Regions from separate parts of the Homo sapiens genome. Here region 1 is linked to region 2. Evidence: promoter capture Hi-C in 16 types of primary human blood cells and fetal thymus (Javierre and others, 2016). All regions are on one chromosome and are shown on one strand. The core of a region is centred on a gene start or on the middle of the fragment in contact, and the rest is flanking DNA. Distances in the headings are between cores, read along the strand shown.

Evidence for each region. Contacts are between HindIII fragments. The CHiCAGO score rates a contact against its expected background, and 5 or more counts as called.
Region 1: a contact is called between a fragment that was not itself captured here and the fragment with the promoter of LRRC20 in region 2, in 1 of 17 cell types (activated CD4 T cells). The highest score is 5.6, in activated CD4 T cells.

The regions. Positions count from the first base shown.
Region 1 is chr10:70,108,442-70,112,555 of GRCh38, forward strand. It overlaps MACROH2A2 (macroH2A.2 histone), which reads left to right. Exons shown (of 9, transcript NM_018649.3): 8 at 592-766; 9 at 3,077-3,841. The coding sequence ends at 3,242. AIFM2 (AIF family member 2) reads right to left here. Exons shown (of 9, transcript NM_032797.6): 9 at 3,830-4,114. Among named protein-coding and RNA genes, the nearest start is that of AIFM2, 22 kb to the right of the region's middle. The HindIII fragment of the contact is 1,732 bases long and covers 391-2,122 here.
Region 2 is chr10:70,380,720-70,384,592 of GRCh38, forward strand. It overlaps LRRC20 (leucine rich repeat containing 20), which reads right to left and starts at 1,906. Exons shown (of 5, transcript NM_001278212.2): 1 at 1,830-1,906. RefSeq lists enhancers at 1,117-1,736, 1,581-1,780, 2,311-2,410 and a silencer at 1,811-2,180. The HindIII fragment of the contact is 9,077 bases long and covers 150-3,873 here.

The DNA of each region.
Region 1 (4,114 bases), core at 7-2,506, 270 kb before region 2:
TAAGCTGCAACATTCCTTGGCTCCTGGCTGCATCGTTCCAATCTCTGTCTCCTTCATCCCACGGCCTTCTCCTGCCTTTGACCTTCTTGCCTCCCTCTTATCAGGTCCCAGGCTCACCCAGACAGTCCAGGATCATCTCCCCATCTCAAGAGCCTTCACTTAATCACATCTGCAAAGTCCTTTTTGCCATGTACGGGAACACCCACAGGTTTCAGGGAGGAGGACGTGGATGTTTTGGGATGCCATTACTTTACCTGCCACAGCCACCAGAGAGGATCTGATGTGTCCCTTTAACTAGGAACCATTGTGAGGAGGTAGCCCAACCCAGGGACTACTTGGCAGACCATATGAAAATGGCGCATCAGAGCAGCATTAAACGCTTCTACCCAAAGCTTGTGCTAACTGTGCAAAGCAATACAGCCCAGCTCTTGCTCTCGTTAAACATAGTCCACATCAGGAGCACAGGATGCTGCCCAGCCAACGTCTCTATCACTGCCTTATCTCCAGATCTAACAGGTACCTGATGAGGTTAGGCTATAACCTAGGAAACCTTAGGAAATAACCCGCGGCATTTTCTCTCCTATGTCCCAGCCGCCGTCAGCCAATCCAGTGGACTCGCAGCCAAATTTGTCATCCACTGTCACATCCCTCAGTGGGGCTCCGACAAATGTGAAGAACAGCTTGAAGAGACCATCAAAAACTGCCTGTCAGCGGCGGAGGACAAGAAGCTAAAGTCCGTCGCGTTCCCGCCTTTCCCCAGCGGCAGGTAAGATGCAGTTCCCCTGAGTTGATTCCTCCGGCTTTTTCCCTGGAAATCAGCTGCTCCCCCACTTACATCTGATCTGGGTGTTGCCAAGGGCTGCCAGCACAGCCAAGTATGCTGACCAGATGACAGGGCAGGAAACCCGGTTTTCATCCTTCAGAAACCATGGGGAAGCGAGCCCACTGGCTCCTAGGCAGCAGGTCTTCCCCGGCTGGGGCCAGCCCCAGTGCCTCCTTGATGTTAAAGCCCCAGGAGGAAGGCTAGCCCAGGGGAGGAGCGGGAGGCAGAGGCCAGCTGGTGTGTTATTTTTTGAGAGCCTTCCAGGTTCAAAGTCCATATTCCCACCAGCTGTCCATGTCCAGGACACATGATCAGAAAACGCCAGGCTCGAAGGCCTTGCTACTCAAAGTGTGGTCCATAGGCAGCAGTGACCGATGTCAGAATGCAGAATCTCAGGCCCCCCATCTCCGACCTCTGGCTCCAGAATCCCCAGAGAATTCCGTTGCTGCTCTGGGAGACTGCAGAGCCAGGAGTTCGAGGCTTTGATGAATACACCCAGAGAAGTGAAAATCTGTCCCCGAGTGATTGCTGAAAAGGAGACTGGGCAATGACTGGATTGTCACAGATCCCAGCTGGGCATTGTTTCAGATACATAATGAGGATATCTGCTGTCACATAAAACATATCCTTTCCCTTCATGCCCCTAGCCAATCTATTGCTTTAATTTTGAACACCCTCTCACCTTGAGAGCTGTCCTTTATAATATAGCTATGGTTTATAGCTGTGTCCTGGGAAGCCCAAGAGGAAAATAATGAGACCTAGGTTCCTGCTGTAATCACACATCAACCTAGGCAAGCAGCATTGAGTCTCAGCATTCCAGGCCCAGAGATGCTGTGAGATGCATTCTTTCGTCGGTGGAACCACGGCAGTGCTGTTCTGTGCTGGAATACATGCGATTGGGAAGAATTCCTATTAACAGGCCCCTCCTGGACCTGCTCCAGGGGTCTCTGTGGCTGACCCCTAACGACCATTCTGGCTGTGTCCCTGGAAGCTGGTGCTGTGGCCCAGCCTGGTGGATGGCACTATCAGTAGCTCCCTGGAACCTGGGGCCTTTAACAAACTTTCATTAACCCCGCCATGCCCGGAGTCACAATGCTGAAATTACATGGGCCTGTGCCTATGAAATATTAAGTGCATAAAAAAGGACTTACGAAGACAGGTTTGGAGCATACATTTTTGCCCTTTACTAAGCAATTGGGTTAGTATATAAACCAGTTTGGAGGGAGCTAATAAAACTTCTGTTTGCTTGTTTGAAGACCAGGTATTTTTAATGCTGAATGGCTAGCATTTTTAAAGCCAAGCTTGACTTGGTCAGGTGACATAGAATCAAATATAGGGAGCTGGCACGGTGGCTCACGCCTGTAAATCCAAAAGCTTTAGGAGGCTGAGGCAGGAGGATCATTTGAGGCCAGGAGTTCGAGACCAGCCTGGGCAACATAACAAGACCCATCTCTACAAAAAATTTAAAAAAAAAAATTTTTTTATAGGCACACGCCTTTAGTCCCAGCTACTGAGGAGGCTGAGGCAGAAGACAGATAGCTTGAGCCCAGAGGTTTGAAGCTGCAGTGAGCTATGATCACACCACTGCACTCTAGCCTGAGTGATGGAGCAAGACTTTGCCTCTGAAAAAAAAACTAATTTAAAAAAAGTATAATAAAAAATAAAATACAGGGCACTCTTCACTTGGCCAGCCCTGTGACCTTGACTAAAATCATTGTGCTTGGCAGGGCACGGTGGCTCACACCTGTAATCCCAGCACTTTGGGAGGCCGAGGCAGGCGGATCACCTGAGGTCAGGAGTTCAAGACCAGCCTAGCCAACATGGTGAAACCCCGTCTCTACTAAAAATACAAAAATTAGCCAGGCATGATGGTGCGCACTTGTAGTCCCAGCTGCTTGGGATGCTGAGGCAGGAGAATCGCTTGAACCCGGGAGGTGGAGGTTGCAGTGAGCTGAGATCGCGCCACTGCACTCCAGCCTGGGCAACAGAGAGAGACTCCATCCCAAAACAAATAAATTAATTTAATCAAATTAAATCATTGTGCCTCTCCGAGTCAGTGTGACACCTATAAAGTGGGGGCAACATGCCCCACCTGCCACCCCCAGGCTGTCCCTTTGGCTAGGGTCAAAGGAGATCATGCATGGACTAGCCCTGCACACAGCAAGGCCCCACCCAGTAAAAACAAAGGCACTTCATGCTCCCATGGGTCCCAGGGACCAAAATGACATCGGCTCTTCTTTTGCTTTGGCACAGAAACTGCTTTCCCAAACAGACTGCGGCCCAGGTGACCCTCAAAGCCATCTCAGCCCACTTTGATGACTCGAGCGCGTCCTCGCTGAAGAACGTGTACTTCCTGCTCTTCGACAGCGAGAGCATCGGCATCTACGTGCAGGAGATGGCCAAGCTCGACGCCAAGTAGCCGCCGCACTTTCCAGCAGGGATCGGAGGACGACCCGAGTCCCAAGAGTGGGGTTTTGCTTTTTAAAAGGAGAGAGGAGGGGTGATGGCAGGGGAGTGGAGGGTGGCCGGGCAGGTCCTGCCGGCGCAGGGAGCCCTCTGCCCTTCACACTCTCCTCCAAAAGAGCCTCCATCTGTAAGGAAGCAGGTCTCCGCGAGGGGTTTCTTTCCATGTGTTTTCCTCCTGTTGTTTTAGAACTTTTTTAAAAAAACAGACCTCGTTTTAGATTTATAGCATTGACTTTTACACACATTCACACAAGAAAAAAATCCTTTCAAAATTCTTAAATCTTCTGTTCCTCCTTTTTCCAAGGGAAGAGGGCAAAAAGTGGCCTGGGCTCTGTTGGTGTGCGTGTTCCGTGGCGGAGAGAAGAAAATGGGAAAGACATCTCACTGGTGCTTTTCTCTTTTGTTTTAGTGCCCCCCGCCCCCATCCCTATAATATCTGTAACTACTCCTAAAAAGGTTTTGATTCAGGCTTTTTTTTGGTTTCATTTTGTTTTTTTAAGAAAAAGAAAATGAAAGGAAAAAAATAAAAGATCCAGTGTCTTTCTTACAACATATTCTTTTATTGCAACATTTTCCTCAGTTTGGAAAACTGTGTCCCCACACGTAGGTCCTTCTAGAATATTGTAAGTCAATAGAAGAAGGCCTGTCGCTCACACACTGGGATTCCCACCTCGCTGGACCCCAGGTCAGATAGCACCAGGGCCTGTGTTTCTTAGGCCGAAGGTCCTGCCTCCAGGAAGGTGGGCTTCCCTTCGTGGTCCATAAAGAAAGACAGATACTTGGATGCAACCACCAGGGGAACAGCCATCCTCCAATAGAGGCACA
Region 2 (3,873 bases), core at 656-3,155:
GGCCCTCTCCACACACCCTCAACCCCATTCCTCAGAGTGAGCATCCTGGTCCGGTGAAATGTTTAAATCCAGCAAACGTCTCCTGGACACCTTCCATAAGGCCCCCACTGTGGGAGTAAAGGGGCAGAGACTGGGTATGGGCTAGAACAAGCTTCCCACTGGGAGGCAGGATGAGCCTGATAGTAGTAAGGCTACAGGGCCAGGCCTAGGGGGGCATGAAGGCACATGGCATGGCCAGGGGGAAGGGACAGGGGTGAGCAGCAGGTGCACAAAGAGATTCAGGAGAGAGAGAGACAGGGAGCCAATGGGCTCCCAGATTACTGAGGAAGGGAACTGCAGCCCTCTTACAAGGCTGTCCTCTGCTTCTGTGTAGCGAACTAAGAGAAGTTTTTTGAGGAAGGCAGCCTAATCCATAGTTTTGCAAAGTTAACAGTGTTGTGAGCAGTCCCATTTGTAAAATGGAAATACCACCTTCCTCACCGGATTATTGTGGGAAGTAACTGATATGTAACTTTTGGGAAAGGACTTTGCGAACCATTACATGTTTCCCACACCAAGGCATTACCAGTAGGTAATCAAACAGGTGTAGAGAGGAAGTTTGGATGTAATAAATTCAATGCCAGACAAAAACGTTGTCCTGCTTTGGGGGAGCTGGCAATACAGCCCTCCTGTCCCTATAACCTGGTTTCACCTGGACTCAGGCTGGCTGGGGGAGGGGTGATTTTTGCTTAAACCCTGACCTGGCCCCCTGACTCCAGCCCTTACCATCAATAACTCTACCTTATCTGCAGTCCGGAGACCTCTGCAAAGGAGCCGCTGCGACAGCCCGTCCCCACCATCTGCTCCTATATTTAGTTACTGGTGTTGTCAGTTGGGAACGTTAGAGCCTGGCAGGGGCTCGGATGGGCAACCGGAGCCTCCGGAGCCATGTGTGCAAGCTGGCCCTACCGCTGGCTCCAGCCCGGGCTCTGGACCATGCCAAGCCGGGGAGCGGGTGGGGAGGTGAGGAGCGACCCAAATAGTCCCAAACCCCCCTTCAGATCAGAACGAAGTTGACCCACTTCCCCACCCCAGGGAAAGAAGCCCGCTGGGACGTGAGCGGGACCTGCTGGCGCCTTGTTTTTGTGGCATGGGGTTCGGGAAGCTCAGCGCGTGCTCCCTCGCTAACATCTAGGCATCCTCGGACTGAGCCTCCAGCACTACGCGCGGTAGCCAGGCAAGGGTCCCCCAGCCCCGCGTGCCAGGATCCGCCTCACCCCCGGTGCCTGCAGCCAATGGCACCTCGTCCGCTGGCCCGGCAGGCGGGGACTGGGAGAATAAAGCTGGCAGAGGGAAGAATGGTAGTGATCGCAGAGGCCCCGGGGCTCCCACGCTGCCCGGAGGCCGAGAGGCACGCTCTGGAGCAGGCGTCTGCAGCTCCCCAGAGCGGAAGCAAACCCCGAAAGTGTCGCTTCGGGGACGAAATGCACAGCAGCCTCTCCAAGCAAGGGCGCCTCCCGCGAGGAATGGAGGCCCGCCTGGGAGCGGTTCTCCGAGCTCCCTATTCCCTGGCACCTCTGCACCCACTCCCCTGAACCATCGGGGTCCAGGTGCAGTGAGCAAGCAAGAGCCCGCGCATGCCGAGCCCCTTGGCACCGCCAGAGCCTCCGCTGGTGCACCGCTGCTCTTTTCCACCGGGTGACCTGGGGGAGGGGAGGGGACGCTGCAAAAATCGGAACACTTCTCGCCCTCTCTCCCCCAGCCCCTGCAACGCTTGACCTCGGACTACATTTACTTTGCGGGGCAAGAAGCGTGTGGTCCCGCTCCGGGCCGCTTTTGGCTCCACTTACGGCGACAATGCCTCCTAGCGCCCTGCGCAGCGCAGTCACGCTCCCTCCGCCGCCGGCGGCGCCCCAGGCGAGTTCCGAGCCGGCGGGGCGGGGCGCGCGGGGCTGCGGGATCTGCGCGCGCGGCCACTCCGCCAATCCCGGCGCCAGGACCGGCGCCGCGGCGGGAGCAGGCTGGGCTCGGGATGCGCTCAGCCAATCAGTGGGGGAGCGGCGCGCGCGGGGGTGGCGCGCGGAAGGGCAGCCCGCGCGCTCCCGGCCGCAGGGAGTAACCGCTTTGTGTGCTGCTTCTAGAGGGAGAACGCCTGAGGGGGCGGAGATACAGAGTGGGACGCGCAGTACATCCCAGGATCTCTAGGACCGGGGCTCCAGATTGGGTTTTCTCGAGGGAATGGAGTTGAATTAGCCAGATCAGGGATACTTTGAAACACGTGAACATGGAGCATAGGGAAATTTTCCTATGATGACTTCGGGTGCCCATTGAGGTTTTTAGTATATGCAAGGCCCTGTGTCTCGGCCCTGCGTCTCCAATCCTAATGTTCTCATCTATAAAATATGACTTGAGGGCGGGGCGCGGCGACTCACGCCTGTAATCCCAGCACTTTGGGAGGCCGAGGTAGACGGATCACCTGAGGTCGGGAGTTCGAGACCAGCCTGGCCAACATGGCAAAACCCCCGTCTCTACTAAAAATACAAAAATTAGCCGGGCGTGGTGGCAGGCGCCTGTAGCCGCAGCTACTCGGGATGCTGAGGCAGGAGAATCGCTTGAACCCGGGAGGCGGAGGTTGCAGTGAGCCGAGATGGGCACTCCAACCTGAGTGGACAGAGTGAGACTCTGTCTCAAAGAAAAAAAAAAGAATATTTAATTCCGCCTCTAGGGGGTCTAGGCAGTCAAAGAACACACATTCCCTTGGGCCTCGATGGATGTTAAGGGTTACTTATGCCCTCTCCACCCCCAACAATATGTTAAAGTTCATCAGAATGTGATCTTATTTGGAAGTAGGGCCGTTGCAGATGTAATGAGTTAAGGTCATGCTGGAGTAGGGCGGGCCCCTAATCCACTGAGACTGGTGTCGTTGTAAGAGAAGAGACACAGAAGAGACGCACAGGGAGAACCACCTGTGGTGATGGCGGCAGGGATCAGCTGATGCATTTCCAAGGCCAGGAGTGCCAAGCACTGCCAGCAGGGACCAGAAGCTAGGAACGGGCAGGGAATAATTCCTCCTTCAGAGCCTCCAAAAAGGAACTAACCCTCCAGACACCTTGATTTTGGACTTAATAGCTTCCAGAGCTGTAAGTGAATAAATTTCTGTTGCCACCCAGTTTATGTCCATTTGTTATAGCAGCCCTAGGAAAAAACTACAATAGGTTAGTAGGAATAAAGAGAAGAGGATGATAAATATCTCCAAAGTAAGTCTTTTGAAACTGATTGCTTAGTATATGCAAAGCCTTGTGTCTTGGGGTATACTGACATGAATCAGACACAGACCCTGCCCTCAAGGGGTTACCAGTCAAGTGGATACTTAAGCAGCCATGTTTTCTGACCCCTTGTGCCTTCCCAGGGAAAACTATGGAGATCTCTCTCAACCCATCAACACCACATCCCTGCCAGATATATAGCAAGTACCAGATATAAATAACTAATGGGTAGAGTCCCATTCTGCCCAAGCCGAGATGCTGCTTGCCACTGTGGACAAAGCAGGCATAGCTACTTCTGTTTTCACTGAAAACCAGCATGACACTTCTACCCAACTTTTACACGTGGATGTCTTCTCTCCTCTGCTAGTCCATACGCAGACTTGAGACAGCCAGTACAGTGTTTCTGTACCCATGGTAAGGGCTCAGTATATACTGCTGGCTGATGGCCCCAGCCTGGGGTTTCCAACATTCATACTTTCCCTCAGACAGTCCCCTGTCCCAGGCAGTTCATCCTGGACCCTCTAACTCCACAGAGACAAGATCCCTCCCTAGCTCAAATCCACCTCTTCTATTCCTACTGTTTTTGCTTCTCCAGAGCACTTAGTGCATTATACCCATTATTCTATCA